Linked DNA regions of Homo sapiens: regions 1 and 3 are each linked to region 2. The links are contacts of gene promoters, found by promoter capture Hi-C in blood cells and fetal thymus (Javierre and others, 2016). All regions are on one chromosome and are shown on one strand. Each heading gives the region's core, a stretch centred on a gene start or on the middle of the fragment in contact. The rest is flanking DNA. Distances are from core to core; before and after follow the strand shown. Region 1 has its middle 550 kb from the start of HTR1A. Region 2 holds the start of HTR1A (5-hydroxytryptamine receptor 1A). Region 3 has its middle 550 kb from the start of LRRC70.

Region 1 (2,700 bases), core at 132-2,631, 550 kb before region 2:
GAGAAGTGAGAACAGTAGTTGTTTTTATAAAAGCATTATTAAGTTATGATTCACATACTATAAAATTCAGTTGTTTCTAGTACATTCACAAGTTGTGCAACCATTACTACCAATTCCAGAACATTTTCATCAACCAAGAAATAAACATTAGCACTTACTCTCCCTTCCTCCCCTCTCCCAGTTCCTGACAATCACAAATCTGCCTCTATGGATTTGCCTATTCTGTGGACATTTCATATGAATGGGATCATACAGTATATAACTTTTGTGATTGGATTATTTCACTTACAATAATGTTTTCAAGGTTCATCCATGTAGCAGCATGCACCAGCACTTTATTCATTTTTATGACTGAATAATATTGCAGTGTTTGGATATTACACATATTTTTATTCATTAGGTGATGGACATGTGGATACTTTCTAGTTTTTGGCTCCTATAAATAATGCTGCCATAAATACTGTGTACAAGTTTTTGTATGAATATATGTCTCTATTGAATATATACCAAGGAATGTGATGTTTGGTCTTTATGCTTACTATTTTTAGGACCTGCTAAATAGTTTCCTAAAGCAGCTTTACCATTTTGTAAACTTACCAGCAATGTATAAGGGTTCCAACTCCCTCACATCCTCACCAACATTTGTTGTCTGTCTTGTCCATTTTAGTTATCTTAGTGTGTGTGAAGTGGTATTTCATTGCGGTTTTAAAATTGCACTTGCCTAATAACTAATGTTGAATATCTTTTCATGCTCCTATTGTATACATTCTTTGCAGAAAGGTCCACTAAAATCCTTTGCCCAGTAAAATTTTTTTTTGTTTTAATCACTGAGTTTTAAACTTCTTTTATATGGTGGTTGAAGTGCATTTCTTTTGAGAATAACTGACATCTCTTATTTTTCACAGTAGCTCTCAAAGTGTAGTCCGAGAGCCGCTGGTGGACCCTGAGACTCTTTCAGGAGGTCTAACGGCATCAAAATTATTTCCACTCCACCACGTGTACACTGAATTTTCCAGCTACTACATGTCTGACAGTATAACAGATTAAATATAGAGGCAGACATGAGAATCCAGCTGAATTTACCTAAGCTAGACATTAAAAAGATTTGCAAAAATGTAAAACAATGTCACTTTTCTCACGAATACAAATAATTTTTTGTTTTTGAAAATATTGTCACTTTTCATAAAAATATGTTATGGGTAATGTAATAGGTTTGTCGTTGTTATTTGACATGAATTAATGCATTTTTAAAAAATTTGCCACAGACAGGTGTGATGCTTGGCATGTAGTAGACACTCAATAAAAGCCAATTTTTCCTTTTATAATGCAGCACCATTCAATATTAGAGGAAGACTGTAGATGAATTTATTCACCTGTGCCATATTTTTCATTGCTGCACATAATAAGAAGAACTACACAGAAGAGTGAAAGAATTCAAAAGGTGATATGTGAGAACTTAAAGGAGAACATAATATTTTCCATCCAATGTTTATGTTTCTGACATATAGCTTGAGTAAACCTGGCATTCCTACGTCATGCCCTTGAGTTTCCCACATGCTACCACCAATCAGGTAGAACCAGTTGCTTCCAGGCATTTCTAATAGTGTAATAATTATGAACACGAGCTATGGAATCAAATGATGTGTATACTTCCTTTTAGTGATGCCCTCTTACTAACTACATGAACTTGAAATGGTTACCCAACATTTCTGAGAGATGGTATGTATATCTGTATTGTGATAGTGGTTAAGAGCATGGTTTCTGGAGCTAGACTGCTGGGGTTTTAATCCTAGATCTGCCAATTACTATGTAATCTTAATACATGTTATTTAATGTATTTTTAATTCATCATCTGTAAAAATGAGAATAATAACAGTCCATCCTCATAGTGTTGTTGTGAGATTTTTATATACATAATATATAAAATATATATTATACATTATATATTACATGTAAATTATATAATATATTAGATATATAAAATATACATTATATATTCTATATGTAACATATGGAATATAAGACTAAATTCTAACAATAGATCATCTTTGAAGATTTATTTTTTCCAAGACAGTCTTACTCTACTACCCAGGCTGAAGTGCAGTGGTTCGATTTCCACTCACTGAAACCTCTGCCTCCCAAGTTCAAGTGATTCTCATGTCTCAGCCTCCCTAGTAGCTGGGAATACAGGAGCATACCACCAAGACTGGCTAATTTTTTTTTTTTTTTTGTATTTTTACTAGAGATACGGTTTTGCCATGTTGGGCAACCTGGTCTCAAACCCCTGGCCTCAAGTGATCCACCTGCCTCAGCCTCTCAAAGTGCTGGGATTACAGATGTGAGCTACCACACCTGGCTAACAATATTCAAGTATTTGAATCTTAGAATATTAGAATAATGCCTGGCATAAAATAAGTGTTCTGATAGTGTTTGCCACATTATCATTTATTTCTAAATTTTCTCATCTCTGTAATGAGGATAACAATAGTCCCTACTTCATGGGATTGTTAAAAATATACAAAAATACATTTAATGTGCTAGAGTATCAGGCACAGAGTAAACTCCTGAGAAAATATTAGGTATTATTATTGTTACTGTTAGACAGTTGGCTAGTTAAGGGACCATAAAATCATTAATCTATGATTGTAGTTCAAAAGGATAATTATTCTCAGTTAAATAATTGTATTCTAGAATTTTCAT
Region 2 (2,700 bases), core at 183-2,682:
GTCTTCTCCACCTTTTTGACCGTCTTGCGGATGCGGAAGCGCGCAGCTCGGAATATGCGCCCATAGAGAACCAGCATGAGCAGCAGCGGGATGTAGAAAGCTCCAAAGGTGGAATAGATAGTGTAGCCATGATCCTTGCTAATGGTGCATGCGTCGGGGTCCGAGCGGTCTTCCGGGGTGCGCCAGCCCAGCATGGGCGGGATAGAGATGAGGAAGCCAATAAGCCAAGTGAGCGAGATGAGCGCAGCGGCGCGCCGGGGCGTCCTCTTGTTCACGTAGTCGATGGGGTCCGTGATGGCCCAGTACCTGTCCAGCGCGATGGCGCACAGGTGCAAGATGGATGAGGTGCAGCACAGCACGTCGAGGGCGATGAACAGGTCGCAGGTTACCTGGCCCAGTGTCCACTTGTTGAGCACCTGATACAGCGCGGCCATGGGCAGCACCAACACCGACACCATGAGGTCGGTGACCGCCAAAGAGCCAATAAGATAATTGGCCACGTTCTGCAGGGAGCGCTCCAAGGCGATGGCAGCCACCACGCACGCATTGCCCAGCACCGCGCAGAAGATGAGCGTGCCCAGCAGCAGAGAGGTGATCACTTGGTAGCTGACGGTCACGTCGGAGATACCAGTAGTGTTGCCGCCGGTCTCAAAGGGAGCCGGTGGTGATGTGGTGTTGTTGCCCTGACCAGGGCTGAGCACATCCATGCCTGCGCGCCCGGCGCGGGAAGGGGGAGGGAAGAAAAAGCAGCGCGAAGATTCGCCTCGCCCCTTCCCCTGGGGTCTTCCGCCCTTCTCCTGGGAAGTTTCGGAGGAAGGGAATGCAGAGACCCAAGCAGGAAGTTCTTACTGCTTCGGCGAAGGGTATCTCCGAGGAGCAGCTTTCAGGCGCTCCCTGGGCTCTCGCAGTCCAGCGCGTTCAGAAGCTCCAGCTGGGAAACTGGAGTTGGCCTGAAAGCAGCTCCAGGATCTCCCGGCGGCGGAGAGGTGGCTGGAACGTCTGTCTGTCGCTGTCCATTTTACTTTGCCGCTCCCGAACTGGCTGCCGGAGCTGGAGTCTCCCCACTAGCAAACAGTCTCCAATCCCAGAAATATCTAGAACCGAGAAGCCCCATCCTCCACGGTCACTCTGTGACCCTCCTCTCCCTATTTCCTTCCTTCCCTCTCTCCCCCTCTCTCCTCCTCTCTTCTCTCTCTTCTGCCTCTTTCGTCCCCCTTCTCCCCACCTGCCTTCCCTTTCAGTCTCCCTCTTCCTCCTCACTTCCCTTTATTTATCCCTCTGTGAGTCGCTTCGAAAGCCAGGCTCCTTCCCTCCCACTCTAACCCTCCCCTCCTAATACTTCCCCAACCCCGAGGAGTGCCTCTTTCCTCTGGGTCCCCGCCCTCCTCTCCCTCTAGCTCAGCGTCTTTGCATTCGAGTCTCTTTTTGTCAACAGAGACTCAGAACTCACTTACACACACCAGATCCCTGCCGGTCAGACCAAGGTTGTAACAAATAAACTCCGCCTCCAACCCAGCAAAACTGGGGTTGGAAAAACTTGGGGGAGGGAATTCCAACTACTCCTTGCCTCATATTATCTGCCAAATTCTTAAATCGTGTCAGCATCCCAGAGTGGCAATAGGAGATGAGAAAAGGAAGCATAGGGAGCCTGAATGGGAAGGTGAACAGTCCTGGGTCAGTCTCCCAATTATTGCTAATTGATGGAAGAAGACCGAGTGTGTCTTCCTTTTTAAAAAGCTACCTCCGTTCTCGCGCCATTGCACTCCAGCCTGGGCGACAGAGCGAGACTCCGTCTCCAAAAACAAACGAACAACGACGACAACAACAACAAAACGGTACCTCCGTTATCATCTAACAGTCCAGCCTTACTCCCTCAGGGAGAATATTGCCTGTGACTTTTTTTTTAACGTTGGGGAACCGGGAGAGAACGAAATTATAAAGGACGTGTCAAAGGACAAGGAGAGGTAAACAACTGCATCTCGAAATGAAGAACAAAACTCAGTGTGATATATATTCTAAACACACACACACTTTTCCATCACTACTACACTTGTAATTTCAGTGACACTGCCACTTCCCATAGCTTTGTGGCTAGTAAATTCAGGGATGGAAATATTTTGCATATGTGTTCTAAGTGAAGCCTGGCATTTCACATGGCCTTTTGCACTTCTTACCAGAGCCTGCAAACCTCTGGGGGAAACTTGGTGGAATCCCGGTTCGCTAGCCGGCTAGCCTCTCTTAATCTCAGAAACTGGGTTCAGCACCTGGGACAGTTCTAAGCAATGAGGTTTTATGTCGCCACCTTCTGGCAAATGTTTTAGAGTGCCATCTGGAAACCCTTATGCAGAAATGAAGCAAGTATTGAGGAAATACAACAACTTTTAGAAAGAGGAAGACAGTTATTAAAAGACAAGGTAGTATTGAGTTTTGTCTCCTTCCTATTTTCTTTAAAAATTTATTTTAGTGCCCTCTTTTGCTCTGAACCTTATATATCAGGCCTATTATATGTTTTAGCTTCCTTCGAAAGCCTGAAGTATCTGTCATTCACAAGTTCTAACTGGGAATGCCATTTTAATAAAGCTAGGCTAACACTTTCACCTGTGTTGGTTTTGTGCTGTCATAACCTGAACTTTGGAACTGACATAAATTTACCTTTTGTTGGAGAAACGAATAGTATTGCATTTTCCAAATGATTTAACA
Region 3 (2,700 bases), core at 95-2,594, 840 kb before region 2:
TTGGGCCCTAATACAATATAACTGATCCTTATAAGAAGAAATTTGGGTACAGACACATACATACAAAGGAAATAAAATGTAAAAACATAAGAGGGACACCAAATACAAACTGAGCCTTCTTAATGAAATAATGGAAGAATGCTCCTGCAGCTAAGTGTGGGCAGAATAAGCTTATTACAGTCAGTGTTGGAGTCAGCAGCTGTTTTGTATCTGTTCTCATGAATGTTTCATAAGCAAAAAAGAGTTGCATCAAATTTTTGATGAACAACCTTTTTACTGTTATAATAAAATAATCACGTCATTAATAAAACCAATAATTTATCTCAAGCCTGTTTTACTTTGGTAAATATTTAGCTTGTACAGTTGTACAGCACATATATTGCATGCTGACATATATTTTGAAATCAATACCAGAAATTGTCTGAAGAATGGGGGGTATTTGGTAGTATTTTGAGAATAAATAATGGTGTGCTACAACCTACTTGCATTGCCAGGAGGCAATTGTGTTCATCTTTTCCTAGCTCCATGATCACGTTAGTATCTTGAAATTGGTTAAGGTGGGAAAATTTACACTATGGCAATTGGCAAATAACAAAAATTCAAACCATTTTTTGGGAGCTGGTTGTTAGACATTCACCAGAACACCTTCAGAAATAAACTGTATTTGTAAACAAATTAATGTACTCTGGTGTTGCGGGCATTTACAAGAAAATCTGTCTTTCCTGATGAAGAAAAATAGCTGATTCTTGTTACCAGGCTTTAGACTAATTTGTGAAGATAAATTTTAGAGCCAGTTTAGAAAACAGATGAAATGAATTTGAGCTGCAATTTAGTAATGGCTTCTAAAGCTGTTGAGCAAATTGCTGAAGTAATTTTGGTATGTGAAACATATTCACTAAGGAGAGTGAAAATTCAAACTCCTTGCCTCCCTGACAGAAGGATGATTAATAGCAGAACTAGAAGGATCAGCATTTTCATGGAAAACTCTAGAAATCAGAGAGTTCCAAAGCTGTCATTAGTTTAGTTTTAAGGTTTTATAAGGAAAAAAACCAATGGCGAATTAAACATTTGTTAATTCAACCTGTATTATTTTATGAGTAGCTGTGTTATATGTACTTAAGTGAAGACAAGTGAGCTTAGAACTTAGAACCTAGAGTGTTTCATGTATGGTGCCTTCTTTCTGTTGATTTGCATTTCCACCCCTGGGAAATGCTAAAGAGGACTAAGGACACCATTGAAATGTCACTCTTTCTGAATGAGGGAGATGGCAGTGCTTCTCAAACTTTAATGTGTTTACAGAACCCCTGGGGAGACTTCCTGAAACTTAGATTCTCATGAAGTCTGGGGTTGGGGGGCTGGGTGGCACCTCTGCTGATGAGCAGTTGGTAGACCACTCCCTGAGGAAGGAGCTAGAATCCTTCTGAGGTGCAAGTGTGGAGATGCTCCTCAGCCAGTGTGATCCTCCCTCTCCCCAACCTTCCCCTCAGCAACAACCAGCAACATGTGATTTAAAAGTTTCCCTACTTTTATTCTTTTATACTTCCTTTCAGTTTAGATTTCTTTAGTGGTTGGGGGTAACAGTATTCTCCCTTAAAAATTCCTATGTGGGTCATTTCTTCTTAACACTTAAAACCGTTTCTCTCTCTCTCTGTCTCTCTCTCTCTCTCACTCTGTCTCTCTGTCTGTCTCTGTCTAGCTTGAGACTTACTGGGATTTCTGTAATTCTGCACTGCTTCCAGTAGAGGTCATTGCCTTGTTATAGAAATATTTCCTTTGTAAGAGATAGATCAATGGCTGGGATGACTGCATTTTGTGGGGGAGTCAGTGAGTCAGCCCGAGGGACTAGTTATCTCCAAGGCCACTGGTTTGCCCATAATAGCACCTCCATTTAAAAGTTGGAGACCCTCCACCTTCTTGTTAGTTAATCTAAATACAAAAAATTGGCAGACTTTTCCAATTACCTGGAACAAATGAAGGAAAAACCTACTGAAGCATGGCCAAAGTGCTCAGATGCTTTAGTGCGGTATGTTAATTTGCTAGGGCTGCTGTAATAAGGTAGTACAGACTGGGGAGCTTAAACAACTGAAATGTATTTGTTCACAGTTCTGGAGAATAGAAGTCCCAGGTTAAGGCATCAGCAGGGCTGGTTCCTTCTGAGGGCCATGAGGGAAAGATGCAGGCCTGTTCCTGTCCTCTCTTTTTGGCTTATAAATGGGTGTTTTCACATTGTCTTTCACTGGTATGAGTGTGTCTGTGCCCATATTTCCTTTTCTTAGAAGGATCAGTTATACTGGATTAAGGTCCAATTTAATCAACTCGTGTTAATTTAATTACCTCTTTAAAGTATCTATCTCCAAATGCAAGTACATTTTGAGGTTTTAGGGGTTAGAACTTCAACAAATGAATTTTTTGGTGGGAGACACAATTCCATAAATAAGCAAACTGTCCTAAGAGAAGAGGACTTCTTGGATGCACATAGCTTTGTCTACAGCTATAATTCACTTGTAAAATTTAAGTCAAAGCTTTACCTTTTCCTTCCATAAACTGAGTACATCTGGAAAAACGGAAGTAAAATAAAAATCAGCTTGCTTTACTTATCTTAAGTAATTGTTCATTTTCTTGTAGGTACTTCATATTGAAGGCTGGTCTAGGAGGAAAGACCTAGGGGAAGGAAACTCCAAAGTCAGAGATAAGTTGTAA

Evidence for each region. Contacts are between HindIII fragments. The CHiCAGO score rates a contact against its expected background, and 5 or more counts as called.
Region 1: a fragment that was not itself captured here is called in contact with the fragment with the promoter of HTR1A in region 2 in 1 of 17 cell types (endothelial precursors); the score reaches 5.1 in endothelial precursors.
Region 3: a fragment that was not itself captured here is called in contact with the fragment with the promoter of HTR1A in region 2 in 1 of 17 cell types (endothelial precursors); the score reaches 7.8 in endothelial precursors.

The regions. Positions count from the first base shown.
Region 1 is chr5:63,410,571-63,413,270 of GRCh38, forward strand. No RefSeq gene overlaps it. Among named protein-coding and RNA genes, the nearest start is that of HTR1A, 550 kb to the right of the region's middle. The HindIII fragment of the contact is 3,127 bases long and covers 1-2,700 here.
Region 2 is chr5:63,961,013-63,963,712 of GRCh38, forward strand. It overlaps HTR1A (5-hydroxytryptamine receptor 1A), which reads right to left and starts at 1,433. Exons shown (of 1, transcript NM_000524.4): 1 at 1-1,433. The coding sequence starts at 707. RefSeq lists an enhancer at 170-1,147. The HindIII fragment of the contact is 6,748 bases long and covers 1-2,700 here.
Region 3 is chr5:63,124,242-63,126,941 of GRCh38, forward strand. No RefSeq gene overlaps it. Among named protein-coding and RNA genes, the nearest start is that of LRRC70, 550 kb to the left of the region's middle. RefSeq lists an enhancer at 990-1,540. The HindIII fragment of the contact is 2,352 bases long and covers 169-2,520 here.